Linked DNA regions of Homo sapiens: all the other regions are linked to region 1. The links are contacts of gene promoters, found by promoter capture Hi-C in blood cells and fetal thymus (Javierre and others, 2016). All regions are on one chromosome and are shown on one strand. The core of a region is centred on a gene start or on the middle of the fragment in contact, and the rest is flanking DNA. Distances in the headings are between cores, read along the strand shown. Region 1 holds the start of TMEM141 (transmembrane protein 141). Region 2 overlaps TOR4A (torsin family 4 member A). Region 3 overlaps NELFB (negative elongation factor complex member B). Region 4 holds the start of SLC34A3 (solute carrier family 34 member 3). Region 5 holds the start of TMEM203 (transmembrane protein 203). Region 6 overlaps ANAPC2 (anaphase promoting complex subunit 2). Region 7 overlaps GRIN1 (glutamate ionotropic receptor NMDA type subunit 1).

The links. Contacts are between HindIII fragments. The CHiCAGO score rates a contact against its expected background, and 5 or more counts as called.
Region 2: a fragment that was not itself captured here is called in contact with the fragment with the promoter of TMEM141 in region 1 in 1 of 17 cell types (erythroblasts); the score reaches 6.3 in erythroblasts.
Region 3: a fragment that was not itself captured here is called in contact with the fragment with the promoter of TMEM141 in region 1 in 1 of 17 cell types (erythroblasts); the score reaches 5.5 in erythroblasts.
Region 4: the fragment with the promoter of SLC34A3 here is called in contact with the fragment with the promoter of TMEM141 in region 1 in 11 of 17 cell types (total CD4 T cells, naive B cells, erythroblasts and 8 more); the score reaches 9.1 in total CD4 T cells.
Region 5: the fragment with the promoter of TMEM203 here is called in contact with the fragment with the promoter of TMEM141 in region 1 in 1 of 17 cell types (total CD8 T cells); the score reaches 6.6 in total CD8 T cells.
Region 6: a contact is called between a fragment that was not itself captured here and the fragment with the promoter of TMEM141 in region 1, in 4 of 17 cell types (naive CD4 T cells, naive CD8 T cells, total CD8 T cells and 1 more). The highest score is 7.8, in naive CD4 T cells.
Region 7: a fragment that was not itself captured here is called in contact with the fragment with the promoter of TMEM141 in region 1 in 2 of 17 cell types (endothelial precursors and erythroblasts); the score reaches 5.8 in endothelial precursors.

What each region holds. Positions count from the first base shown.
Region 1 is chr9:136,789,573-136,793,449 of GRCh38, reverse strand. It overlaps TMEM141 (transmembrane protein 141), which reads right to left and starts at 2,106. Exons shown (of 5, transcript NM_032928.4): 1 at 2,026-2,106; 2 at 1,673-1,739; 3 at 1,420-1,503; 4 at 1,092-1,199; 5 at 133-631. The coding sequence starts at 2,079. The coding sequence ends at 618. RefSeq lists a silencer at 1,680-2,719. The HindIII fragment of the contact is 4,968 bases long and covers 1-3,877 here.
Region 2 is chr9:137,281,434-137,285,310 of GRCh38, reverse strand. TOR4A (torsin family 4 member A) reads right to left here. Exons shown (of 2, transcript NM_017723.3): 2 at 2,670-3,877. Among named protein-coding and RNA genes, the nearest start is that of TOR4A, 5.6 kb to the right of the region's middle. The HindIII fragment of the contact is 1,900 bases long and covers 659-2,558 here.
Region 3 is chr9:137,264,547-137,268,423 of GRCh38, reverse strand. NELFB (negative elongation factor complex member B) reads right to left here. Exons shown (of 13, transcript NM_015456.5): 7 at 2,445-2,547; 8 at 1,998-2,093; 9 at 1,338-1,480; 10 at 1,078-1,184. Among named protein-coding and RNA genes, the nearest start is that of NELFB, 11 kb to the right of the region's middle. The HindIII fragment of the contact is 538 bases long and covers 1,349-1,886 here.
Region 4 is chr9:137,228,487-137,232,363 of GRCh38, reverse strand. SLC34A3 (solute carrier family 34 member 3) reads right to left here and starts at 1,463. Exons shown (of 13, transcript NM_001177316.2): 1 at 1,426-1,463; 2 at 577-700; 3 at 203-292. The coding sequence starts at 661. It overlaps RNF224 (ring finger protein 224), which reads right to left. Exons shown (of 3, transcript NM_001190228.2): 3 at 2,724-3,742. The coding sequence ends at 3,278. RefSeq lists an enhancer at 2,166-2,666. The HindIII fragment of the contact is 19,638 bases long and covers 1-2,343 here.
Region 5 is chr9:137,203,937-137,207,813 of GRCh38, reverse strand. TMEM203 (transmembrane protein 203) reads left to right here and starts at 2,166. Exons shown (of 1, transcript NM_053045.2): 1 at 2,166-3,732. The coding sequence starts at 2,400. The coding sequence ends at 2,810. NDOR1 (NADPH dependent diflavin oxidoreductase 1) reads right to left here and starts at 2,114. Exons shown (of 14, transcript NM_014434.4): 1 at 1,902-2,114; 2 at 1,505-1,582. The coding sequence starts at 2,036. RefSeq lists a silencer at 2,151-2,410. The HindIII fragment of the contact is 6,239 bases long and covers 1-3,622 here.
Region 6 is chr9:137,181,748-137,185,624 of GRCh38, reverse strand. It overlaps ANAPC2 (anaphase promoting complex subunit 2), which reads left to right. Exons shown (of 13, transcript NM_013366.4): 4 at 538-712; 5 at 1,834-1,953; 6 at 2,383-2,500; 7 at 3,763-3,877. Among named protein-coding and RNA genes, the nearest start is that of ANAPC2, 4.9 kb to the left of the region's middle. The HindIII fragment of the contact is 8,215 bases long and covers 1-3,877 here.
Region 7 is chr9:137,162,827-137,166,703 of GRCh38, reverse strand. It overlaps GRIN1 (glutamate ionotropic receptor NMDA type subunit 1), which reads right to left. Exons shown (of 20, transcript NM_007327.4): 15 at 3,701-3,858; 16 at 3,374-3,535; 17 at 3,036-3,145; 18 at 2,800-2,945; 19 at 1,408-1,518. Among named protein-coding and RNA genes, the nearest start is that of MIR3621, 4.5 kb to the left of the region's middle. RefSeq lists an enhancer at 3,418-3,877. The HindIII fragment of the contact is 3,872 bases long and covers 231-3,877 here.

The DNA of each region.
Region 1 (3,877 bases), core at 857-3,356:
GTCACGTGGCCTACGGGGCTGATGCGAACGTCTAATTCTGGGGTTCAGCGCTGGGAACTTCCCTGTACATCCTCAGTATGTAACTTGCATGTGATCCTCATATATCAACTGTAGGGTAATAAAGGTTTCATGTGACCTGTCATCATCTTACCCTTCTGATTTGTTTTTCACCTGGTCAGGTGGAAACTTGGGTGGAGAGAAGGATAAGCCATTTATTAACCCCACGCCCCTAGCACCAGCTGTCACCTTGGACTTGTTGGAGATGCAGGGGCTAGAAAGGAAATGACAGAGTGTACAGGCCCCTTCGACCCCGTGTCCCATAGGTGGTGGCCCCCAGACACACCCTCTCTGCTGGCAGTGCAGAACATGCATCCCAATACCCTAGAGGAGAAACACCACCCCAGGGAGAGCCCTTTCTGCTCCAACCTCCTGGGCAGGTCCCAGGTTGGGGCAGCAGCCATCTGCAGGTGTTTGTCAGGCCTGGCCACACATGCGGACAGAGGATACGACTGGGGTACCCTAGGGTGTGGGGAGGGTCGGCCTGGGGTCAGGGGGCATGAAGGCTGTGTTCCAGACTCCTCCTGCCCCCAATCCTCTGTGCCCCTGCTGGAGCTCTCCTAGCTTCTCTGATCTGTAAAAGGCAAAGAGAGACAAGCTCGAACCACATCCATCGTGGCTGGGCATCCCTGTGCCCATTTTATCATGGCAGAAACTGGGTTCCGTAACAAGGACAACGGGCAGTGGAGGCCAGGCCTGGGTCCAATGCGGGGCTTCTCAGTCCAGCCTCACTCCTCTCGGGTGCCCACGTGGCTGCTGTGGCCTTGCCACACCCTTCACTCTGCACCCTTCCTCTCAATCTCAGGGGCACCCCAGCCCCTCTTGGTTCTTTCTCCTCAAAGGGAGCTCTCCAAGATCTGTCTACTGCGCCCACCCCCAGCTCCAACCCATCTGGCAGTCACATGCTGAGGAGGCCGGGCCAGAGGGAGGGACCTTGTCTAGCCTATCGCATGGTGCACCCAGGCTTGGCTGCCCAAAACTCTGGGTGCTGGAGAGGTGGCATTCACTTCTCGCTAACCCCCAGGCTCTCTCACCTGTGCTCCTGTCTTTGGGGAGCTGCCCGGTCTCCAGGAAGAGCCAGAGGTTGTTGCATTTCTCCGACTCCACTCTCGTCACCCCGTAGCTGACCACAGAGCCTGCAACTGTGGAGCAGGAAATGGAAGAGGGCTGGGGCCTCTGTGCTTCCCAGGCTAAGAGAACCGGGCACAGGCTACTTCCTGACAGACGTGGTGGGTGGGCTCAGGTGGGGCTCCCGCCGAGACCTGGGGCTCCATGTCAGAGTCAGGGACGCAGAACCACAGCCCCAACCCTAGCAGAAACCCACCCCTCAAAGAGCCCAGGCAGGGGCCCTGGAGTACCCACCCACGGCCACTAGGAGGCTCCACTGCAAAGGGTATGGAAACTTCCTCTGAATGAACATCTGCAAGCCAAAGGCCATGCCGGTGCCTGCAAAGAGCCGAGGTCCCCATCAACCTGTACCCGGGGATAGCCAGGGCCCACCTTGCCAGGCCCCCAGCACCTGCGGGCAGGTGACTTGGCGCCCCCTGCTGGGGAGTCAGGGCAGGGCGGGAGGGTGCGTTCTCTCCCAGCCGCAGGACACCTGGACGCAGCCTACCTGTGACGAAGGTGAAAACGCCCTTCATGAAGGCGTGTGACTGGCATGCGGCATACTCCCCGAGTCCCTGGGGTGGCAGAGGCGGGTGAAGGCTCGATCCCCTGCCCTCTTCCTTCACCGCCTCTCCTGTCCCTCCTCTGGGCACACCCTGGCTGTGGAGGAGTGAGACCCTGGGCGCTTGGACACGTCCCACCTCCCCTATGCCCACCCGGACGCCCTGAGCCCCTTAGCAAGAGAGTGCCCCCAGCCTCCGCCACTCTTCCCTGACGAGGGCACCCCCACGCCCCGGCCCCCCGCCTCGCTCAGGTCAGCTTCTGGGGTTTGAGGCCCGCGTCCCAGACCGGCCTTCTCACCGGGTGCTTGGCAGCCACGGCGTCGTCCACCCGGGACAGACCCAAGTTCACCATGGTTGGCAGGGCTCGGGGAGCGGGCCTGCGCAGGCGCAGGCGGAAGGGCGGGACGGGAACCTGGGGGTGTGGCCCAGAGGACAGGCCTGCGCAGTTACGGACGGAGGGGCAGGGCCCGGATCTGGGGGCGAGGCCTAGGGACCGGCCCGCGCTGGAACAGGCGGAGGGGGCGGGGCCTAGGAGACGGCGCCTGAGGGCGGGTCCGCGCGGCAGCAGGCGGAGGGGGCGGGACCTGGGAGACGTGATCTGGGGGCGGGGCCTGAGAGACGGGACTTTGGAGACGCGACCTGGGGGCGGGGCCTGAGAGACAGGACCGGGGAGCGGGCCTGCGCAGGCGGAGGTGTCGGGTTCTAAGAGGCGGGTCCTGCCGGGTGCAGGCGGAGGGGCCAGGGCCTTGGATTGGGGGCGGAGCATGGATCGAGCCTGCTAGAGCGCAGGGGAGAGGGGTGGGGCCTGGGGCCTGGCCACGCCTCTAGGAGCTTGGGCCCTGTGACCTCCGGCGACGACTGGGCGGGGCGAAGGCGGGCACCGGGCGGGGCGTGGCTGAGAGCGTGCGCTCCTCCCCCCGGCCGGGCCTCATTCCCACACTTGCAGAGGCCTGATGATTGTCAGTGTTATTTTGCTTGAGGACTACAATCAGGGATTGAATTTCTCATAAGCCACCACGGAGTGGGGATGTATAAAATCACTGTTTAGCAAAGTGGTTCTGTAACCAGCAGCTTAGTAGCTGAGCCTCAAACTCCTTTTGTTTTGCATGACAAAGAGTCTTTACTTTCAAATAATTATCGATACACCAAGTAATAACATGTACAAGTTCTTGAATTCTATCATCTAGTAATTTTGATTAAGAGAAACTAAAATCAGCCCAAACAATTCCACTAGTATTCACTGGTGTAACCATTAGCAAGAACGGAGGACTTCAAGTCAGGCTGCTGCTTCACACAGGTTACAAATAACTATTTACTACTTTTTCATCGATAAAGTCCCTGATCTTCAAGAAAGTGCTAGGGAAAAAAATTAACCCCTTCCTTTCTTCAAAGAATTATTATGTGGTTTTTTTTTTTAAACTAGATCAAAGAAAGAAAAAGTCAACACTGATATACGTGTTGCTTGAGCCAAAAGGCATGGGAAAAAAGACAACATATAACCATTAAATTCCTAAGAAATATGAGGTAAAAAGATGAAATCTTGGCCAGGTGCGGTGGCTTACGCCTGTAATCCCAGCACCTTGGGAGGCCGAGGCAGGTGGATCACAAGGTCAGGAGTTAAATACTAGCCTGGCCAAGATGGTGAAACCCCGTCTCTACTAAAAATACAAAAATTAGCCGGGCGTGGTGGCAGGTGCCTATAATCCCAGGTACTGGGGAGGCTGAGGCAGGAGAATCACTTGAACCTGGGAGGTGGAGGTTGCAGGGAGCCAAGATCGTGCCACTGCACTCCAGCCTGGGCGACAGAGTGAGACTCTGTTTCAAAAAAAAAAAAAAGGCTGAAGTCTTTAGATAATTTATAAGTCTGTACAAAAAAGCTAGATTTGCTACTCTTCAAAATGTGGAAGGACCTACTCTATAATATATGGAAATAATTTAATGCCATTTGTGGGGAAAAGAGAGATCAGACTGTTACTGTGTCTGTGTAGAAAAAGGAAGACATAAGAAACTCCATTTTGATCTGTACTAAGAAAAATTATTCTGCTTTGAAATGCTGTTAATCTGTAACCTTAGCCCCAACCCTGTGCTCACAGGAACATGTGCTGTATTGACTCAAGGTTTAGGGGATTTAGGGCCGTGCAGGATGTGCC
Region 2 (3,877 bases), core at 359-2,858, 490 kb before region 1:
GCCTGTAATCCCAGCACTTTGGGAGGCCGAGGAGGGCGGATCATGAGGTCAGGAGATCGAGACCATCCTGGCTAACATGGTGAAACCCCGTCTCTACTAAAAAAATGCAAAAAAAAAAATTAGCCAGTCATGGTGGCAGGCGCCTGTAATCCCAGCTACTAAGGAGGCTGAGGCAGAATGGCGAGAACCCGGGAGGCGGAGCTTGCAGTGAGCCAAGATTGCGCCACTGCACTTCCAGCCTGGATGACAGAGCAAGACTCCATCTCAAAAAAAAAAAATGCAAAAAACTAGCCAGGCGTGGTGATGGGCGCCTGTAGTCCCAGCTACTTGGGAGGCTGAGGCAGGAGAATGGCATGAACCCAGGAGGCGGAGCTTGCAGTGAGCAGAGATCGCGCCACTGCACTCCAGCCTGGGCAACAGAGCGAGACTCTGTCTCAAAAAAAAAAAAAAAAACAAAAATTACCAGGACATGGTGGCACACGCCTCTGGTCCCAGCTACTCAGGAGGCCAAGGCAGGAGAATCGCTTGAACCTGGGAGTTTAAGGCTGCAGTGAGCCAAGATTGCACCACTAGCTGAGATTGCACCACTGCCCTCCAGCCTAGGTGACAGAGTGAGACCCTGTCTCAAACAAACAAACCAAAAAAAAAAAAAAAAGCTTTATTTCAAAAAGTTTGCCTAGGGCCAGGCATGGTGGCTCACGCCTGTAATCCCAGCACTTTGGGAGGTCTAGGCTGGAGGATCACTGTAAGTGGGGAGTTTGAGACCAGCCTGTCCAATATGGTATAACCCTGTCTCTACTAAAAATACAAAAATTAGCTGAGCATGTTGGTGCGTGCCTGCAATCCCAGCTACTCGGGAGACTGAGGCAGGAGAATTGCTTGAACCCAGGAGGTGGAAGTTGCAATGAGCCGAGATCATCGCACCATTGCACTCCAGCCTAGACAACAAGAGTGAAACTCCGTCTCAAAACAAAACAAAACAAAAAATTAGCTGGGCATGGTGGCACACACCTGTAGTCCCAGGTACTAGGGAGGCTACAGCAGGAGAATCCCTTGAACCCAGGAGGCAGAGGTTGCAGTGAGCCAAGATCGAGCCACTGCACTCCAGCCTGGGCGATAGAGCAAGACTGTCTCAAAAAAAAAAAATCAATAAAATTAGACAATTTAGATGAAATGGACAAATTCCTAGAAGTTCCAAGAAAGACACAAATTACCAAAACTGACTCAGGGACTTTGCAGATGTAGGTAAGTGTGGACCTTGGATGGGAAGATAATCCGTTATTACCCAGGTGGACACATTTACTTATTTATTTTATCTTTTTTGAGACATAGTCTCACTCTGTCGTCCAGGCTGGAGTGCAGTCGCAGGGTCTTGGCTCACTGCAAGCTCCACCTCCTGGATTCAAGCGATTCTCCTACCTCAGCCCCCCAAGTAGCTGGGATGACAGGAACTCGACACCACATCCGACTGATTTTTGTATTTTTAGTAGAGACAGGGTTCCACCATGTTGGCCAGGCTGGTCTTGAACTCCTGACCTCAGGTGATCTGCCCGCCTTGGCCTCCCAAAGTGCTGGGATTATAGGCGTGAGCCACTGCGCCTGGCCCAGGTGGACACATCTAGTCACATGGGTCTTTAAAAGCAGAAAACTCTTCCTGGCTGTGGTCGGAAGGATGCAGTGTTGCTGACCTTGAAAAATGCAGAGAATGGCCAGGCGCGGCGGCTCACGCCTGGAATCCCAGCACTTTGGAAGGCCGAGGTGGGAGAATCGCTTGAGCCCAGGAGGTCGAGGCTGTAGTGAGCCACAATCACGCCATTGCATTCCAGCCTGAATGACAGAGAGAACCTGTCTCTATTAAAAGAAAAGAGAAGCCAGGCACGTTGGCTCACAACTGTAATGCCAGCATTTTGGGAGGCTGAGATGGGTAGATCACCTGAGGTCAGGAGTTCGAGACCAGCCTGGCCAACATAGTGAAACTGAGTCCCTACTAAAAATACAAAAATTAGCTGGGTGTGGTGGTGGGCGTCTGTAATTCCAGCTACTCAGGAGGCTGAGGCAGGAGAATTACTTGAACCCAGGAGGTGGAGGCTGCAGTGAGTGGAGATCACACCACTGCACTCCAGCCTGGGTGACAGAGCGAGACCTTGTCTCAAAAAAAAAAAAAAAAGTCATTATGATGTGCACACACAGATCACGAGGGTTACTACGTAATGACACATGGCAGATGTCAAAGAATAACTCAGAGACAACTGCACAGAAACAGTTTCTGCACATATGAGGGAGAGCAGCTATGACATTTGGGATCATCTGGTTAGCTGGCAACTTCCCGCATGTCCAGCCTGGGTCATCTGCCCTCAGCACCTGTCCAGGGCAATTAAAGAAAATACTTTAGTTATTTATGGATTTCCTGGAAAGCCCGGATGTTTGAGCTGCAGACTGCATGTGAGCCCCAATCCTTCCATCAGCCTCCAGGTCCACACCACTTCCCCATTCAGAAGTTTCTCAAAACAAAACAAAAAACAAAACTCTCGATCAGCATGTCCTATTAAATAGAAGCTTAGAGAGAAATGGATAAATCTACCATAAATCTACAATTAGGGAAAGATTTCAGCATCCTCCTCAATTATTAACAGACCAGACAGACAAGAAACAAACCAAACAGTAGGTCGTCAGATTTGAACCACACAATTTATTAACAAGCATGATTTGTGGCCTCGTTTATTACCAGCCCCCACCCCAGCACTTGGTGCACATTCTCCTTAAGCGCAGAATTTGGCCTCAAGGTAATATTTTAGGAATAAATAAAAAGAGGCCGGGCACGGTGGCTCACACCTGTAATCCCAGCACTTTGGGAGGCCGAGGTGGGCGGATCACGAGGTCAGGAGTTCGTGACTAGCCTGGCCAACATAGTGAATCACCGTCTCTACCAACAATACAAAAAAATTACCCGGGCGTGATGGCGGGCGCCTGTAATCCCAGCTACTCGGGAGGCTGAGGCAGGAGAATCGCTTGAACCCAGGAGGCAGAGGTTGCAGTGAACCGAGATCGTGTCATTGCACTCCAGCCTGGGCAACAAGAGCAAAACTCTGTGTCAAAAAAAAAAGAAAGAAAGAAAGAAAGAGATAAAATTTCCCCTTAGGTCTGGACCTTTTGATACAAGCCGATGCTCAGCGGGTGTTGTTGACTGACAGGTGGATGAATGGCCCACGCTTGCCGGCAGGTGACACCTCCAGGTGGGTGCTCTGTGGGAAGGGGAGCTGACAGTCCTGGGGGTCCTGCCTGGGGAGCAGTGGGCACCCCAACATTCACCCATGCAGGGACTGGCAAACACACCCCCACTCTGCAGCTCTCTCTGTTACCACCTTGAAGCCAACACGAAGGCCAGACCAGAGCTGGGTGTCCCTCTGTGTGGGCTCCTGGGACAGATACTCGCCTGGGAGAGGTGGGGCTCCTTCTCCCAGCTCCTTCCCCTAGCCCTGGGGTTGGGGTGGACAGAGCTGGGCTGAACTCAGCCCTGGTTCCCAGCGCTGGCTAGCCGGTCCTGCACAGCCCCAGGAGGCAAAGGTTTCCTGGTAGCCCCCACCCCCACCCCGTGGAGCCGGACCCCTCCCCAAGACTCCAGGAGCAGCGGGAGTCCTCAGGACCCTCTGGGCAGGACGGGGCAGCCCTCTCGCTAGCGCTCCCGCCCTGGGCCCAGGACCTGCGCGCCGAGCTCGAGCTCCGCGGAGCCGCTGCCATCCGCCCAGAGATCCCAGACTTTCAAGCGGCCTGAATCCCCGTCTCCACTAGACGGCCCTCGCCCCCGACCACAGACACCAACCACCAGGGCGAGAATGGATGCGAGGCGGGGGAGAGAACAGGACACCCTCCGGGAAGC
Region 3 (3,877 bases), core at 368-2,867, 480 kb before region 1:
TTAGTAGAGACAGGGTTTCACCATGTTGGCCAGACTGGTCTCGAACTCCTGACCTCGTGATCCGCCCGCCTCAGCCTCCCAAAGCACTGGGATTACAGGCCTGAGCCACCGTGCCCGGCCGTCCCTGCCCTTTCTACACTACTCAGTCTCAAGTCTCTGTTAGAGCAGCATAACGTGGACTAAGACAGCAAACCCCAGACAAGGCCTGAGTCAGCAAGGAAGAGCCCAGGGTCTGTGTCACAGTGGGTACCGCAAGGCTAAAGAGGCCCCATCTCCCATGGGACCCACAGCAGGCTAAAGAGGCCCCATCTCCCAGGGGACCTGCAGCTCTACTCTTGAAGGTGCCCATTTGGACCCTTCCTCTTCTTCCTGGCTTGCAACAACCCCTCCCCCGTCAAGGCCCCCAGGAGGAAGTGGGCCTGTCACCACCTGGGGTGGGGCACTGGGGCAGGGGATCTCTCTCCCTCCCCTTTGCTCCATTCTCTGAGCACCTGAGGGGTCCCAAGCCCCTCGCCAGTTAGGATGAAATAAAGACAGCTCTTACATCACCTTTTTGTGGGAAAGCACAAAGTTGAACTCCCTCTCCCTTTCCTAGTAAAATAAACTACAAACAAAAGTAAAAGTGAAAACGAGGCTGGGAGTGGTGGCTCACACCTGTCATCCCAACACTTTGGGAGGCCGAGGCGGGCGGATCATGAAGTCAGGAGTTCGAGACCAGCCCAACCAACATGGAGAAACCCCGTCTCTACTAAAAATACAAAAATTAGCCTGGCACGGTGGCACGCGCCTGTAATCCCAGCTACTCAGGAGGGTGAGGCACGAGAAATCACTTGAACCTAGGAGGCAGAGGCTGCAGTGAGCTGAGGTTGCACCACTGCACTCCAGCCTGGGCGACAGAGCAAGACTCCATCTCAAAAAAAAAAAAAAAAAAAAGGTGAAAACAAAGCTAGCAAAGTTGGAGGTGGGCTGGGGAGACAAGGCAGCTCCTGGGGGCCCTGGGGCCCGCACCCTGGGCAGGACTGCATACGGCAGCTGCCGCAGGGAAGACACAGCCAGGCACCGCCCGTCAGGACTTACCCAGCCCGGGCAGCAGGCGGAGGAGCGCGTTCTTGTTCCTCTGCTTGGTGATGTGCAGGACGTAGTACAGCCCCACCTCGCAGGCCATGCGCTGCTCCTGCAGAAACCTGCGCCCGGGGCGCCATCAGCCCCACCTCAGCCCCACCTCAGCCCCACCTCAGCCCCACACCGACCCCTGCCCAGCCCTGAGGCAGCCCCCTGGGCAACAGTGCCATCCCTGCGCCACGGCCACCCCTGCACCATGGCCCTACAGCCCGTACTTAGTGAAGCTTTCGGGAAGTGTGTTTGGATATGAGACTGGGGCTTTCTCCTCAGCCGGAAGTTTCTGATCCACATTGAAAGTGTAGTCATCCACCAGGAAGGACATGAGCATCGGGAGGAACCTGGTGATGAGCTCTACCTCCTACGAGGAGGGGAGGCCATGAGCGGGCGCGGGCCCGGGCCCTGCCCCACCCCACCCTGACGTGACACACACCCTGCCCCTGGCCCTCCCACTCCCCCAGATACCTCACCGACCCTCCCTCCTCTCCAGGTCCCCAGGTCCCTCTTCCCACCTCCCGAGTCCCCCACCCAGGCCATCTCCTCAAACCCCCTTCTAGGTCTGGACCCACATGGAGTAGTCACCACCTGTGGCCAGCCATGGTCCATGGAGACACCCCCAGAACAAGCCACGGTCCACGGAGACACCCCAGAACCAGCCACGGGCCATGGAGATACCCCAGAACCAGCCAGGGTCCACGGAGACACCCCAGAACCTCCCTGGTGGGCATTTTCCCAAAAGGAAGGTGGGCAGCTCCAGGAAGGAAGCTTTGGGACCAAAGGGGCCTCCACAATCACCTTGCTAGCGCCTCCCCCTCCACCCCACTTCCAGCCCACAACCCCTCGTAGGAAACTGGCAGCCCCCACAGGAGGCTCGTTACCATCTTGGGCTCCTTGAAGACCTGGCTGTCGATCATGTCCCAGGCTCCCTGGCCCAGCGCCAGCAGCCGGAGCAGCAGCAGGAGGTCGGGGCTGTCCTGTAGGGAGGACGGGCTCAGCGCCTCTCCCAGGCAGCTGTGTCCTGGCCATGGAGCTCCTCTGACCCTACTCGTTACTCAGCAGGATCTCTGGTGCCCATGGCCAGGACCACACGACTGCGATCACCAGCCCCACACACGGGGTGAAACGCAGTCTCACAGCGGGGAAGCACACGCCTCTACCTGGGCCACTGCAGTCCACATCCCCGACCACCAGAGCAGCCAGCAGGGCGGCCACAGGGCCCCAACAGCTGCCTCCACCTGGCCGCTGCTGTCCACACCCTGACCACCCAGAGCAGCCAGCGGAGTGGCCGCATGGCCCCGACAGCTGCTGGCCAAGCCCACACTCACCCTGGGCAGTGTCTCCTGGCCGACCAGCTCCTGCAGGTGCCTGACTGTGCTCAGTGCCAGCGTGTTGATGGCGAAGGGGTCACACAGGATCATGGACAGGTCCCTGGAAGGAGGCCGCCCTGGCATTAATGCGACGCCTGTTGCCCCTCCCTTCAGCGGCACAGTCCTCAGGAGGGGTGGCCTAGGCTGAATTCAGGACTGGCAGCGGGTGCCCATCACATGCTGGGTTTCTTACAAAAAGCTTAAGGATGGCCGAGCGCGGCGGCTCAGCCTGTCATCCCAGCACTTTGGCAGGCCGGGCGCGGCGGCTCAGCCTGTCATCCCAGCACTTTGGCAGGCCGAGGCGGATGGATCACCAGGTCAGGAGACTGAGACCAGCCTGGCTAACAAAGTGAAACCCTGTCTCTACCAAAAATACAAAAAATTAGCCGGGCGTGGTGGTGGTCGCCTGTGGTCCCAGCTACTCGGGAGGCTGAGGCAGGAGAATCACTTGAACCCGGGAGGCAGAGCTTGCAGTGAGCCAGGATCGCGTCACTGCACTCCAGCCTGGGCAAGAGAGCGAGACTCTGTCTCAAAAAAAAAAAAAAAAAAAGCTTAAGGTTTGCAATTTGTCCTTAACCTATTCAAAGATTTTTCAAATTAAAAAGTTAAAAAAACAAACAAAAAAAAGGCTGGGTGTGGTGGCTCACGCCTGTCATCCCAGCACTTTGGGATGCTGAGGCCGGTGGATTGTTTGTTTGAGACTAGCCCGGGCGAGGTGGTGAAATCCCATCTCTACTAAAGATAACAAAAATCGGCCAGGCGCACTGGTGTGTGCCTGTAATCCCAGCACTTTGGGAGGCGGAGACAGCAGGATCAATGCCCAGGAGGTTGAGGGAGACTGTACCACTGCACTAAAGCCTGGGTGACAGAGACCCTGTCTCAGAAAAAAAAAAAAAAAAAAAAAAAGGAAGAAAAAAAGTGGCAAAGGCAGGGCCAGGCAGCACTGTGTCTATACACCAGCCAGAGGATGCTGGAAAGCAAATGCCAATGGATGCCCCTCAGCTCAGAGGCTGACCCCACGCCACTGCAGACACCAGACCCCAGCCCCTGGGCCTGGCTCCAGAATGCAGAGTTGAGGAGGGAGACTTTGCTACCCACACACATCCCGACAACCATGTCCCTAAGCTGTGGGCCAGCAGTGCCCGGCATAGCTCTATTGAAACATCCAGGAGGCCAGGCACGGTGGCGCATGCCTGTAATCCCAGCACTTTGGAAGGCTGAGGCGGGTGGATCACCTGAGGTCAGGAGTTCAAGACAAGCCTGGCCAACATGGTGAAACCCTGTCTCTACTAAAAAATACAAAAATTACCTGAGCGCAGTGGCGCGTGCCTGTAATCCCAGCTACTTGGGAGGCTGAGGCAGGAGAATGGCTTAAGCCTAGGAGGCGGAGG
Region 4 (3,877 bases), core at 214-2,713, 440 kb before region 1:
GGACGGATGGGCAGAGGTGGCCGGTCTGCCCCAGGACAGCACAGACACCCGGTTGAGGGACACGTGTCTCCCCAGAGGGGGCCTGCATGGCGGAGTTCCCCACACACAGCCTGTTTGGGCAGGCCCCACCCTGCTCTGTCTCCCCAGTCCCGTTGGGGACAGAGGCCTGCCAGCCTGCCACCCCCGGAACCTCCAGACCCACCTTTCCAGGGCTGGCTTGTGTCCTTCAGCTGAGGGAGGGTCCAGGGGTCTGTGTCCCCTTCCTCCAAGACTGGAGCAGAACTGGAGGTCCCTGTGGAGGTAGAATTGAGTACGGCTGTTTCCAGGACCACCTCCCTCCAACTGGGGGCACAAGGGCACAGGCCGGAGGACGGGCTGAGGCGTAAGAGGCCTGGAGTGAGGGACAGAAACGGAACGGGGAAGATGGGGCTCCAGCTGGGCTGGACCTGAGTGGAGGCGTCATGAGCCCTGTGGGTTCCCCGGGAGGCCCGCAGGAAACCTGGCCTGTCTCTGCCCAGTGCCTGGGGGGTGGGTGGTCAGACTGGTGAAGGCCTGGGGCACAGGGGCCACTGGTACCTTCATTCCTCAGAGTCTTTTCCACTAGGTCAACCGCGTCCAGAGTGGGGTGGGGGACCTGGCTGCCGGGAAGGGAACTCGGCATGGATTTCGGGCAGGGACAGACCCAGGCCCAGGTCTAGATCTGCTGGGGGGGACGCGCGTGTCAGAGACATTTCCTCCTGCCCCGGCCCTGTCCTCACAAGCTGGATTCACACCCCTGGGTCCCCTGAATTGAGCCCTTGGCCGCCACCCTCCCTCTCTACGCCCTGCAGGCCTCAGTGACCATCCCCCTTTCTCCATCCACAGGGGGATGGCTACAATGACCTCAGGCAGTTGTCAGGCGAGCCCAGTCCAGTTTCAGGGGTAGACTCGAAGGGGCTCCAGCTCCCCGGCTCCCTTGCTGGTCCTGACTGGAAGGCTAGTGCCGAGGGTGCAGGCCATGAGCTGGGGAACCTGGGGACCTCCCCTATCTGGTGTCATCGGGGACACTGTGGATGGTCCCGACTTAGACTTTGGCATTTGATACTAAACAGTGACGTCTCGGCTTGATAAGGGCCCCACGCCCTGGTGATGGGGAGCAGGTGGGGTCCTCACACCACTTCAAGGCTCCTGGCCCCGAAGCTGCTGCCTTAGCCTCCTGGGCCTGGTCACCCCACCCCTGGGGCCCCCCACCTGGACCCCTCCACCTAGTGCCCTGGGCTCAGGTCCAGGCGTCCTGTGCCTCACCCTCCCTCCTGCTGCCCAAGCCTGGCGTCTCTTGCCCTTGGGTCCTGGAGACTCAGGATGGGGCCCAAGCCCTTGGCCTGGAGGCCACCCAGCCTCGGCCTCACTGTCCCTGGGCCTCAGCCTGGTCCTAGGAGCTCCTACCTGTGTGGGTGGTGAGGGGGCACCTGCAGGGAGGAGACACGGGGCGGGAGCAGTTGCAGGTCAAAGATCCCCTGATCGCGCACATGACCTGCTGGGTACTGAGCCCATTAATGTTTACCCAGGAGCCCAGGCCCTCACGGGGGTACCCTCCTGGCCCCAAGGCCCCTAGGCCTTGTCTCCATCCTGTCACTCTGTGGCTAGGACCTCCAAGCCCCAGCCCAACCCTCCTGGAGTGGGGCTCCTCCCAGGGGTGGGCTCTGAATCAGGCCGAGGGCACTGCGGGGCGGGGCACCGGCCCTCGGTACTGGGCATCCTCAGCAGGCATCCGTGTGACCCAAGAGACACACTCCACCCAGCCAGGCAGGATGCTAGAGTATGGCTGGGGCTGCCCGGGAGTCGAGAGACGCCAGTCCCCCACTTCCATGCACCTCAGGGCTCCCCAGACCTTCTCAGGGTCATCCCTGCCCTCGGCAGAGCAGGGGAGGGAAGCCCTTTGCACCAGGTGGTGGGGGAGGACGGGCTTTTTCACGTAGCCGGGGAGGGCACCCAGCCCGAGGTCAGAGGGTTCAGATCCGGGTTCAGGGCAGGGTTGGGCCCAGCAGGCTGCTAGCGGGCTCGGCCCTGGTATAGCCAGCGACGGCGGCCGGCAGCCTCCATCTGCAGAGGGGAGGACAGAGCTCCCCAGGCCACCTTCCCCACCCGCTGCCTGGCCCAGCGCACAGTTCTCCCCAGCGGAGTCCCAGCTGGCCCCACCGCCTGTGGGGTGTCCCCTAGGAGGACTGGGCCTCTTCCTGCCCTGGGGTGCGGGGCAGCTCCCCCAGAGGCTCACCCTGCCCAGGGGCTGCTGGTGCCCTGCTTTGCTTGCTGCCCAGCCCCCGCTGTGTGCATGGGGACTTTGCCCTGGAGAAGGTAGAAGCTTCTGAGTGTCCGCTCAGCAAATTCTCTTCCGTCTCCCTCCTGCGCCCTTGCTCTGGGGGTGGGGGGCAGCAGTCCTTCCCTGGGGCTCCTGAGTGACAGCTCGTTCCAGTGGGGGTGGGGGTGTTGCAGCACTGACTTGGTGGTAACTGCTGTCCACAGTCTGGCCCCAGCCCCAGCCCCGGCCCCTCAAAAGGGTCTGTGTGGTGGCTGCTCGGAGCCAGGAAAGGTTCAGCGAAGGATGAGACCAACTGGGCTGTGAGACCTCAAGCAGGCCCCAGCCCTCTGTTGGCCTCAGGCAGGCCCCGCCGAGGCATCCCCTTCAATGCCTGTATGGCTTCGTGCCTACACGAGACCCTCCCAGAACCGCACCCGACACACAGTGGGAACTCCATGAGCTTTGTTGAGTGGGTGAATTCACAGGGCTGCCATGCAGGGCAGGGAGGAAGGAGGTAGTCTTGCCACCCTCCCGGTACACCCCGGGGACGTCTGTGGGAGAGGGGAGACCTGCTCTGGGCAGCCCGCCAGGCATAGCCAGACCGGCCCTGCCCCTCCAGCCTGCAGCCCAGGCCCCCGGGACGCCTTCGCATCCTCTTGGGAGCCATCCTTTGCGCTGCGTCTAGGCCCAAGCCAGGCTTGCCGCCCACTCAGACAGCAGTGTCCTCACCAGGCACATCCGGTCGGGCTAGTCTGGGGTCTGGTAATTGTGGCCAGGACAGGTGGGAGGTCACCAGCCTCCTGCGGAGCCTCCCAGCCCCCAACCTTAGGCTGTGGCCTGGGATGTTCACGGCTGGGATGACACCACCCTGCTGGGCCACACGAAGCTGCGTATAGGATGCTACTGCCAGGTTGTTCTGAGTGGGCTGAACCCATGATGGTGTGTGGTCAGGGGTTCCAAGGCAGGCATTTCCCCTGCAGGGGTGGGAATGGCCAGAGTTCAGACCTCGGGGCTGCCTAGGGGTGGGCAGCAGAGGCTGCCACAGCCCCAGCAGCAGTATCTGGGCTGGGGGAAGTGGGGCTGGGGTCCCAGGGCAGGGCACAGCCCAGCTGGCTGCCGAGTGATGGCGCTGCCTTTGAGGGAGGTGAGGGGCAGGGGTTCTAGTCTTGCCGGCTCCCGCTCAGCCTTGACCGCCAGGAAAGCAGCCAGGTCCAGGTCTAGCATGGCCACCCCTCCGCGAGGCGTGGGCGTGCTCTGACGGCACTGCGGACAGGGGATCCAGCGCTGCTCGGGCGCCGGTGTGTCCAGCCGCCGCACACACGCCTGGCAGAAGGTGTGTCCACAGTAGAGGCGGCGGGGCAGGTGCCCGGAGAGGTCATAGGCCGAGCAGCAGATGATGCAGTCTGTCCTCTCCTCCGGGGGCCCCCCTCCTCCGAGGCCTGGGGGCCCTCCGGCTGCAGCATCCTGCCAGAGGGAAGCCAGCGGTGGACAGCCTGCCTCGAGGACCTTCCGCCTGGATGGGGTGCTGGCCCCAGGAGCCCACCCCAGAGGTCAGGCGCTGGGTCTGTGGGGGTGGTGCGTGCAGACCTGGGAGGGAGC
Region 5 (3,877 bases), core at 917-3,416, 410 kb before region 1:
CTGATCTCCTGTAATCTGGCTTCTCTCCCCATGAGCCACTGAAGCTGCTCTTCCTGGTATCACCAACAATCCCTTTGCCAAGAAATCCCATGGATCCCTCTCAGGCTTTATCTGATTTGACTTCTGTGCAGCTTTACATGCCAGAGCCCTTCCTGGAACACTCACTCCCCCAGTCCTCTCCTTGGGGTGCTGCACCCTCTCTTCTAGCTGCTTGGTCACTCTCCTGCCCTCCTGGGCTCTAACGTTCTGGGCAGCCTGTCCTGTGGGGAGAGAGGAGCTTCCTCTTCTCACACTTCTGTATTGTGGCTACCTCAACACCTATCTCCGCCCCAGGATCTTCCTTGGAGCGCTAGTCCTACTGCACTTCTCCACTTCAATGTCTCCAGGTTCCCTTCCTGCACAGCCCCCTACTCCCACCGTGTTCTCTGATTTCTGTGGATGGAACCACCATCCATCTTGGTTCCAGAGCCCACATCCCTGTCTCGATTCTGCTTGACCTATTGGGTCCGTTCCATGTCCCGGGGACTCTCTCTTCCTGACACCACTGCAATGTGTCCACTTCTATCTTCTGCCACCACTTCAGCTCAGATCGGTAGCATCTGCTGCCTGTCCTGTGCATCTCATGGCATTATTCCTGCTGTCCTGCAGACCAGTGCGGTTTTGCTAGCTTAGGAACATGACTGTGTCACCCCTACAGTTCCGACAACCCTTCATTTCAAGCCCATCTGCCTTGCTGTGGTTACTCAGGCTCTTTGGACTGGGCCTGGCTTCCTGCCTCTCTTCTCCTCCCCTCTTGCCCCAGTGTACTCCTCAGCTTGGCCACCCTGAGCTGCTTTCCACTTTTCACACAAACCAAATCATCTTTTTCCTCTGCGCTGACTGCTCCTTCTTCCTCGGTGCCTGACTAGCCCTCACGCATCCTTCCGTGACTCAGCTTACACTCTTTTCTTCCAGAAACCTCTGCCTGGGCCCCAAGGTTGGGTGAGATAAGGCTCGATGCCCCTTATCAGTGCTCCTGTGACATATGCTACTTTCCCCAGCAGCAGGTGTTTGCTGGCACTGTCATTGCCCGTTAGCTGCTTCTGCTACAGTGTGAACTCTGCCAGGATGGAAATATGGCTGCTGGGTTCACAGCTGGATCCCCAGCACCAGACTGTGCCAAGAATAGAATATGTGCTTAAAAGATGGTCAGAGAATTCAGCAACGTTCCCTGAGGGTCATACAGTCTAGAAATACACACAAGACCCAGACTAGATGCACATATAGATAGCCCTGGAAAAATAAGAAAGGTTAAAACGGATAATAAGGCTATTTGGTGGCTACGACGAGTTTATTAGAGAGGGCAACCGGAGCCCCCAGCCCCACTCACGGACGTTCTCTCAAATCCACCTCTGAAGGTGCATGAGATAAAGGAGAGCTATTTACTGCACCTAGACGCCAGGCAATGAAAACGGGGTGAGGGTCGAGGGCAGGGATCTGAGGAGCCACATCAGGCCAGCCTTACCTTCATGTTGTCAGGGGGGTCTCCTTGGCCTGTAGTTGCACAAACAAATATCACCAGGGGCTCGTTAATCAGATTCACCTCAACAAAAAGACACACACACGTAAGACCTCCGGCTGTAAGGACCGGGCGTCCTTCCCAAAACTTGACCCCCTTCTCCTTTACTCAGGCTGACAGGGCAGAGGGATTTATGTGAGCAGCCAGACCGTCTTCTCTTTCAGGTTCCAACCTCCTCCAGGTGCTAAACTGAACTCCCCTTCCCAAACCTCCTTCCCTAAATCCGCCATAAGGGAAAGACCCGCTCTCAGAGAAAATGCGACGCCTTTTGGGTCGATGACCCCGCGAGGCGGGCACGCCAGGCCTGCTCGTCCCCCACGCCGAGGCCCTAGCGAGCCCTCACCACCGGGTAGGAGTCCAGGGCCTGCACCCGGCAGCCAAGCCGCCGGCGCCGGGCCTCGCGACCCAGTCTCTCCGACACATCCTGAGCCGTGCCTGTCTGGCTGCCGAAGAGCACCAGAAGCTGCGGGCTCGGCATCGGGGTGCGCCCGGTGGTCTGGTCTGAGACTAAAAACTAGAAGGCAGTTCCCGCCGGCCGGGTTGCAGGGACCGCTCCGCCTTCCGCCTTCCGCCGTCGACCGGAAGTGACGCACTAGGGACGCGCCCTGTGGGGGCATGGCGTCCGATCGAGGCGGGCGTTCACGGGCGGCCAGGGTTGAGTCCCGGGTCGGGGCCGGGGGATTGCCGGCGCATCAGGGCCGAGGGCTGGGGCTGGCGGGGCCGCTCGCTGCCTCTCGCTCGCAGCAGCGGCGGCAGGCGCGGGCGAGGGCCACGGGGAGAGGAGACGCAGCCCCGCGGGTGGCACGCTCGGCCGGGCCCCGGCCCGCGCTCAACGGGCGCGATGCTCTTCTCGCTCCGGGAGCTGGTGCAGTGGCTAGGCTTCGCCACCTTCGAGATCTTCGTGCACCTGCTGGCCCTGTTGGTGTTCTCTGTGCTGCTGGCACTGCGTGTGGATGGCCTGGTCCCGGGCCTCTCCTGGTGGAACGTGTTCGTGCCTTTCTTCGCCGCTGACGGGCTCAGCACCTACTTCACCACCATCGTGTCCGTGCGCCTCTTCCAGGATGGAGAGAAGCGGCTGGCGGTGCTCCGCCTTTTCTGGGTACTTACGGTCCTGAGTCTCAAGTTCGTCTTCGAGATGCTGTTGTGCCAGAAGCTGGCGGAGCAGACTCGGGAGCTCTGGTTCGGCCTCATTACGTCCCCGCTCTTCATTCTCCTGCAGCTGCTCATGATCCGCGCCTGTCGGGTCAACTAGCCTCACCGAGGTGCCGGAGAGGGAGCGCTGGACAACTAGAATGTTGACCTCGAGCCGAGGCCCTACTTGCAGCGCACCGGAGGAGAGGCTCTCTAGTCTGAAGGCACCGCCGGCTTGCGCCGAGCTGAGTGCCGGGTTTCCCTATTCCAATCCTGTTTGAAATGGTTTCTTCAGCAGGGCTTAAAAGAGCAGCCTTCATCCTGAAAATGTATTTCCTTTTGTTTAATGCTTTGAGTAGATAATCCTGAATTGAGGTCATGAGGAGGCCCCCCAGGCCAGACAGTCCTGAACCCCTCTGACACTTGGAAACTGAATATAAGTAAAATGTCCAGGTGGACTCTGAGTATTTCCTGTGGATCCTGGGAAAGTACTGTTGCACAAAGGCTGCAAAGCTGGACTCAGGAATGTCCTCCAACCAGCAGCGCTGACCTAAGAGCTCCCTGTGCCGTCTATCCAGACCAGACTTCGGTAGATGCCTTTGTTAGATCTATCACATGTAAACGAGCTTGTATCTCCTTCCCTGTGCCACGAGAGAGATTGGCTTTTTATTCCAGTCTAGGCAGAGACAGAAGAATGTTGAATAAGAGCACGATTAGAGTCCTGTCTGGTTATCTGTTGCCCAAGAAAAGAACTCTGCTGTCCAGGCACTGCTTGGCTTACTATCCCAGCAAAGACTGCAGTTTTGTGGACTTTTGACCACCTTGGGCTGGCACTCTTAGCACACCTGAGACAGATTTAAGCCTCCCTAAGAGACTGAAGAGAGGAACAGGTGTCAGATACTCATAGGCACTGAGATCTACAAATGGGAAGCTTGTGAGTGGCCCATCTTTGTTGGCCTACGAACTTTGGTTTGATGCCAGTCAGGTGCCACATGAGAACCTTTGCTGAGATGCAAATAAAGTAAGAGAATGTTTTCCTGAAATGAATAGTGGTTGCCTGTAACCCTCAAGGGTTAAATAGGATGAATATTGAGATACTCTCTGCTACGTGGTGTAGCTGGTTACAGAGCTGCGGTTTTAAATGGATTGAAACCTGTGGCTAGAGCTTAGTGGATGGTGGTGGTGGGA
Region 6 (3,877 bases), core at 1,378-3,877, 390 kb before region 1:
GATGTTGGGTTTTCAAAGAGGGAGGGTGTCCCCAAAGCGGTGGGCAAGAGTGGGTAGTAGGGTGGAGAGGGTGAACATCCGTGCGGTCTTGCCACTGGGTAGCAGGTCTGTGGGGCATGAGCACGCCTGGGCCCCGCGGCGGAATTGCCACCTAGAGGTTTGTGCTCGCCTGGGCCCCCCGGCTGGTCTCAAGGGCGTGTTTATCCATTTAAGTGGGGGCAAGTGTGCCCACCAGGCACAGCGCACAGGTCGTGTGTGTCTGTCATGTCTCACGCTAGGGTTGCTGCTGCCAGTGATAAGTGTGGGCACTGGCGCGTGTGAGAGGCACGAAGACTGCAGGGGGGCCGGGACGTCGCCTTTTGGGCCATCACCCACCCTGCAGGTTTTGATGTGCTCCAGCCTCCAGACGCAGGTGGCCTTCGGGCTCCCCTCGGTCCCGGCCGACAGGGTGGGTGGCCGTGAGGCTCCTCCCAGCCTCTGAGTCAGCCCGGGGCTCACCATGCCTCCCTGCAGCTCACACTAGCGTTCTCCTGACAGTGGATCGAGCGGGTGGTCGGCTGGCTCGGCAAGGTGTTCCTGCAGGACGGCCCCGCCAGGCCCGCATCTCCCGAGGCCGGCAACACCCTGCGCCGCTGGCGCTGCCACGTGCAAAGGTTCTTCTACCGCATCTACGCCAGCCTGCGCATCGAGGAGCTCTTCAGCATCGTCCGAGGTGGTCCTGCCCCGGCCCTGGGGTCCGCTCTCCCGTCTGGGGAGTCTTCCCAGGGCCTTCCCCGTGTCTCCTCTGTGTCTGCATCTGGGCTCCCTGTGCCTTCACCGTGTCTGCTCTGTGTCTGCGTCTGGGGCTCCCAGGGCCTTTGCCGTGTCTGCTCTGTGTCTGCGTCTGGGCTCCCTGTGTCTGCGTCTTGGGCTCCCTGTGCCTTCGCCGTGTCTGCTCTGTGTCTGCGTCTGGGCTCCCTGTGTCTGCGTCTGGGCTCCCTGTGCCTTCACCGTGTCTGCTCTGTCTGCGTCTGGGGCTCCCAGGGCCTTCGCCGTGTCTGCTCTGTCTGCGTCTGGGCTCCCTGTGTCTGCGTCTGGGGCTCCCAGGGCCTTCGCTGTGTCTGCTCTGTGTCTGCATCTGGGCTCCCTGTGCCTTCGCCGTGTCTGCTCTGTGTCTGCGTCTTGGGCTCCCTGTGCCTTCACCGTGTCTGCTCTGTGTCTGCGTCTGGGCTCCCTGTGTCTGCGTCTGGGCTCCCCGTGCCTTCACCGTGTCTGCTCTTTGTCTGCATCTGGGGCTCCCAGGGCCTTCGTCGTGTCTGCTCTGTGTCTGTGTCTGGGCTCCTTGTGTCTGCGTCTGGGCTCCCTGTGCCTTCGCCGTGTCTGCTCTGTGTCTGCATCTGGGGCTCCCAGGGCCTTCGCCATGTCGGCTCTGTGTCTGCATCTGGGCTCCCTGTGTCCACGTCTGGGGCTCCCTGTGCCTTCGCTGTCGCTCTTGCAGGGGGGTGCACCGGGCAGTGCTGGGACTGTCCCCACTGCGGCGTCCCCCGTGCCTGGATCAGGGCAGGTGTGGCAGATGCTGGACAGTGCTTCTGGGTGTCCACTGCTGTGCTGCCTTGGCCTTGGCTCCTGCTGGGGACTGGCCCCTGGGTGTTGCTCTGTCCACCCTGTGGCATTGTGGTCAAATGCATCAGCACGCCAGAGTGTCGGGGGGATGTCTGGTGCCTAGCAGGTGGTCTCATCATCGTCCTGGGGCTGGCAAGCACGTGTCCTTTCCCACACCGCACACACTCTGCACCAGCCTGCACGTGCGCACGCATCCATGTCTGTCCCTGAGGGATGTTCTTCTTCTTGTAGACTTCCCAGACTCCCGGCCAGCCATCGAGGACCTCAAGTACTGCCTGGAGAGGACGGACCAGAGGCAGCAGCTGCTCGTGTCCCTCAAGGCTGCCCTGGAGACTCGGCTCCTGCATCCAGGTGCTGTGTGCTGCCCGGCCACCCAGCACTCTGGGCTTAGACACTCACCAGGGGACCCATGTCCAGGGAGCCTGGGGCCTAGTCTGCCAGCCCTGGACTTGTAGGTCTAAGGAAGAAATGGGTTGAGAAGCAATTGGTGAGGTCCTTAGGGGATCTGAGGTGCCCGTCAGCTTGCTTGTTTCTTCTTTGGAGGGAGTCAGGACTGACCGGTAGGTCTGAGGTGATGAGACTTAGTTCTCTCAGAACAGACCTCCCTGCAGGGCGGGACCTGTGAACAGGTAGAGGTGGGGATGGGGGGACAAGGGAACGAGGCTGCAGTGGGGACCTGTAGACCACCTACCGGCATGGCCAGCTGTCTACTCGGGTGTTGCCCCTGGGAGGCTGTGGTCCCGGGCACTGCATGACTGCTGGCTTCTGCCCTGGCTGTAGGCGTCAACACGTGTGACATCATCACCCTCTATATCTCTGCCATCAAGGCGCTGCGCGTGCTGGACCCTTCCATGGTCATCCTGGAGGTGGCCTGTGAGCCTATCCGCCGCTACCTGAGGTGAGGGCTGCAGCTGGCCCAGGAGCCACTGGGACCCTGGGCATCCTGCTGAGCTCCTCGTGGTCCTGGGGGGCAGCCGGAGGGTGTGTTCGGCCGTCAGGACACAAGGTCTCCCCCGGCTGGGCTGAGTGCACGGGATCAGGCCCGAGGCTCTTTCCTTTCCTCTTGCCCGTGCCGGGCACCTGTCCTTGTCACACGGTGTCACCGTGCCCTCTGTGTGCAGCTGCCAGAGGCCCACCACAGCCCTTCCTCAGCCTCCCCATCTCCAGCACAGAGAGAAGCTCTTCCACTTGGCCTCGCCTTGGTGCTGACCAGTCCCCAAGGCCGACCAGGCAAGGGGAGTGGGCTCTGCTGTCCTGGCCTTTCCCACGGCAAGGAACAGACACTCCTGGGGCTGTTCGGTGGAGAATGTGTTGGGATGAGGACCTTGACATGGCTGCCTGGGAATTCCTCAGGGGTCGCAGAGGCCCTGGCCCGGGGCTGGCAGGCACAGTGGCCCCCAGGAGCCGAGCAGCAGGAGCCGGTGGAGTCTGGCCCCTACCTGGACTCCTTTGGTGCTTTGTGGCTGTAACTGGCCTGGCTTCTGAGCCAGTTCTTTGTTTTTTCTTTTTTTTTTGAGATGGAGTCTCACTCTTTCGCCCAGGCTGGAGTGCAGTGGCACGATCTCTGCTCACTGCAAGCTCCGCCTCCCGGGTTCACGCCATTCTCCTGCCTCAGCCTCCCGAGTAACTGAGACTACAGGCCGCCACCAAGCCTGGCTAACTTTTTGTATTTTTAATAGAGATGGGGTTTCACCATGTTAGCCAGGATAGTCTTGATCTCCTGACCTCGTGATCCGCCTGCCTCGGCCTCCTGAAGTGCTGGGATTACAGGCGTGAGCCACCGTGCCCGGCCCTTTTTTCTTTTTCTTTTTCTTTTTTTTGAGGCAGGCTCTCGCTCTGTTGGAGTGCAGTGGCAGAATCCTGTCTCCCTGCAGCCTCGGACACCTGGGCTTAGGTCTTCTGGCTTAGTGTCCCTATGTGCTGGGATTGCAGGTGCGCAGGCCGGCCTTGCGCTCGCAGCTCCTGCTGCTCCCAAGTAACGTTGGGTTTATTTGTTTTTAAGGAGTCTGACGGGCCTGTGTTTAGTACATAGCCCATCACCACTGAGTGTAGAGGCAGGGTCGGTGGTGCTGGCCTAGATGGGGCCGGGACTGGAATGAGTGGTGGGAGGTGCGCGCGGGGTGTCCACACTGTGGGCCACAGCAGCACTCACATCGGCAGGACGCGGGAGGACACAGTGCGGCAGATTGTGGCTGGGCTGACGGGGGACTCGGACGGGACAGGGGACCTGGCTGTTGAGCTGTCCAAGACCGACCCGGCGAGCCTGGAGACAGGC
Region 7 (3,877 bases), core at 917-3,416, 370 kb before region 1:
CCCCAGGCCTACAGGCTCTCACTGTCCACCCATCCTGCATGCCAAGTCCCTTCCCCAGGAAGCTGAGCAGCCAGGCCTCATGGGTCCCTCTTGGGGCACCCTGGTGGCTTCATCTCGGGATTTGGCTTGCTTGATGCCAAGTCCTGTCTGTGCCCTGGAGGTCTGCCCCGCTTCCAGTGCACTGAGGGGCAGGTGGCTGCAAATCGCACTTCCTCCCCCGGGCGTAAGCTTCTCTCTGGTGATGCTGCTTATGGGCTGGGGGCTTCCTGTGGGCCAGACTGGTCCCTGGACTGCAGGGTGGCCACGGGGCTGAGGTCTCCGCTGCCTCTCTGGGCAGCCCCTCCCCACCATGGTGCCTGGGCCTGGGGTGCCTCTAGCAAGGCTGGGTTCGCTCTGGGGGCCTCTGGTCCGAGTGTGCATATCCGCTACAGGGACAAGCTGCCCCGAGCAGGAGGTGGGGGATTCTGGGCTCCAAAGGGCAGAAGGCCTGGCTCTTTGGGGTGGGCCTTGTGGGGTTGCTGGGGTCAGGAGCTGAGGTGGTCGTTTCCCTTCCAGAGGCCTCCCTGTCTGGGAACCTCAGTGTCGTCCTGGGCTCTGCAGGCCAGGGCTTGTGGGGCCGCCCCTACCCATTCTCAGACCCTCTGGGAGCTGCCGCCACACCTCCTGCAGGGCCCCCGCTCAGCCTGGGGTGGGAGCCACCCCTTTTGGTCCCACCCCACTCCCTGCCTGACAGTCCCCTGTGGCCGGGGCCAGTTCCAACTCCAGGCCCCAGCCGTCCACCCAGACGGACCCAGGCCCGGCCCCCAGCCCCCGGCCCACACAGAGACCACATGAAGATGCAACACGCATGGCTCTGGTGAGACAGGTGAGACAGGTGTCTGGGGGGCGGGGCCAGTGGCCAGACAGACGGACGGGATGGGACATCACAGCCACCCCCTCCAGGGCCGTCGCAGGGGCGAAGTGAGGGCGGCGGGCCCCTCTGGGAGAGGCGAGAGAAACGGGGACATAACAGAGAAGTGGTGTGGCCTCCCGGCAGCTGAGGAGTCCAGGATGGGGCCACGCTGGGCTCCCAGGGCCCCAGACCTGGCCCCGAGAGGTGGTGTGGCTGACTGACTGACCAACGAGATGACAGGCTTCAAGATGGCGTGTGGGTCATGGCAGGGGAGGTGGGCGGGCAGACTAACGGAGACACACGGGGAAAGCCGAGGACCCAGGAGGGCCGGGGAGAAAGGTCCAGAGAGTGAGAGAGAGCAGCATGGGCGGGCTGGGCAGAGCGGCCGCCACAGGGAGACAGGGGCAGAGTGGGCCACAGGAGCCCAGGGTCCGGGGCGGGGTGATGGGGCGGGAGACACACGCAGGGCAGGGCAGGTGGAGTCGGACGCGGGACTGGGGTGCTCTCCCCCTTACCGTGTCTTTGGAGGACCTACGCCTCTTGAAGCTGGAAGCCAGGGTGGAGGTGATAGCCCTAAATGTGGCTTTCTTTTTAGGGTCAGGCTCTGCTCTACCACTCTTTCTATCCTAAAATGAATATGTATAAGTGATTAGATGGCTAGGGTGGTGGCCACACCTGCCCTCGCCTGCTCCTGCATGGGCCGCTGCCCAGCCTGGCCGGCCACTTGGGCCCTCGCTCCTGCCTGCCTCCCTGTGCTGGACAGACGGGCCGACAGCGGACGTTCGAGGGTGGCCTCTTCTCCTGCCCGGGGTCTCGGGCCTGACCTTGCTCGTGCTGGGGCTGGGCTTGGGGGCTCTCGGCTGGCTCTTCCTGGGAGGTCCGCCTGGCTCCCTGGCTCCTGGGTGGCCCTGGCTTACAGGCGTCCCGAGGAGGAGGAGTCCTCTGAGGACTGGAGGAGTTGCCCCTCAGGCCACACCAGCTGTCTGCGTGGAGGCCACTGACCCCCAAGGGGCACACACCAAGATTCAGGAAGGGGCCGAGGGCTGGAGGCAGGTGTCGAGGTGGAATTGGAGTGACAGAGGCAGCTCCCGGGACTCTGGCCTCAGGTCTGATGGCCAGGTGGCCTGTGCCCGCCAGTGCTGGCAGCGGCCAGGTCCCCAGGGGACCTGTGGGGGCCAAGAGCAAGAGCGGGCGGATGAGAGGTGTGGAGCCTCCAGCAACCCCCATCCCCCAGCAGCCCTGGCCGCACTGTCGGCTTCATCTCAGGACACAGGCTCCAGGACGGCACCCAGAGAAAGAGAAGAGACGGAGTGAACCGGAACTCGACCGCGGGCCACGAGCCCTTAGGCCTGTACAGGCCCACTGCCCACCCTGTCCCAGGTGGGCCGTGGCTGCCCTTGCTGGTGGCAAATTCTCATGGATACAACCTGGGCACCAGGCAGGACCGGACCTGGCCCAATTCGGATTAGAGTCACGGAGCACAAGGACATAGCAGGAAAGGGGGGGGTCTCCGAAGGGTGTCAAGGGGCTTGGGTCGGCGGAGGGCAAAATGCATCTTGGACTCACGTGCCATACACAGGCGGGCCCCTGTCTTACCCTGCCTGATTGCCTTCCTATGGAATGGGTACCGGCGGGCGACTCTGGAGACAGAGGGGCCAGGCGGAGGCTTGGAGCAGGGTGCGTGGCCTCCCTCGGCCCCGGCTTTGCAGTGGGCAGCCACCTGCAGGCAGCCCCCCACCGGTGCTGCCCCCGTGCCCTGGGAGCACTCACCACTGCCCCTGGCCATGGCTCCTAGCTCCAGTCCTGCCCACCAGAGCCAGAGCCAGTGCCACGGCCTTCGGGGATGGAGGAGGGCCGTGGCCAGGCCGGGCCCTGGGCACCAGGCCTCGGAGGGTGGCCTGCCCTACCTGCAGGTTCTTCCGCCACACGTTAACGGCGGCAAAGGCCAGCTGCATCTGCTTCCGGCGAGCATCCTTGTGCCGCTTGTAGGCAATCTCGATGAAAATCAGGAAGATCCCGGCCACGATGCCCCCAGCTACCAGCATGAAGACCCCTGTGTGCCGGGACCCAGAGCCTCAGTTGCTGGCCAGGGAGGCCGCAGCCCACGGAGAACCCACCCGAGAATGGATGAAGGAGAACGCACCGGCCATGTTCTCAAAAGTAAGGGTCGCAGGGGCGTTGCTGCGCGAGTCACATTCCTGATACCGAACCCACGTCTTGTCCAGGTCTTCCATGAAGCCATTCTCGTGGGACCTGGCGGTGGGAACAAGTGAGCCTGCAGTGAGGCGGGGCCCAGGACGGGAAGGAGCAAGCTGGGGGCGGGGCCGGGGCGGGGCCTGCGGGGTAGGGTGCGGCGTGGAGTGGGCAGCGCCCGGCCTGGGTGGGAAATCAGTGGTGGCCTCGGAGTGGTCTGGCACTGGGGAGGGCGTCCACCTCTGGCGGAGAGGGGCGGAGGAGGGACGCGGGCGCACGGACACTCACTTGAGGATGGACAGGGAGACGTTCTGCTTCCAGGGGCTGTCTTTGCGCATGCCTATGCCGAAGCCCGAGCGGAAAAACAGCTCTCCAGTCGTCACCAGGTCGCACTTCTGCGAGGCCTCGAACTCCAGCACCGCCGAGTCCCAGATGAAGGCATGCAGCTTGCTGCCGGCAGAGGCGGAGTCACGGGGGCCTTGGTCCTGCCAGCCTGGAAGCCCCACGCCCGCGCCCTCCGGGGTGCCCGGCCCGGACGCTCTCCTGCCCGGTGGAGGCCACCCTCCCCCTCCCCGCACCTGTCCCGCCCCGCCAGGGTGGCCGCCCGCGCCTCACTTGTCTCTCACGGCCTGGATGGCCTCCGCCGCACTCTCGTAGTTGTGCTTCTCCATATGCCGGTACATGGTGCTCAGCTCCACCTGGCGCCGGAAGTAGATATCCACGGAGCTCTGCTTCACCGTGGCGTAGATAAACTTGTCCGAGGGGTTCCTCAGCTGCAGGGTCGGAGGGCAG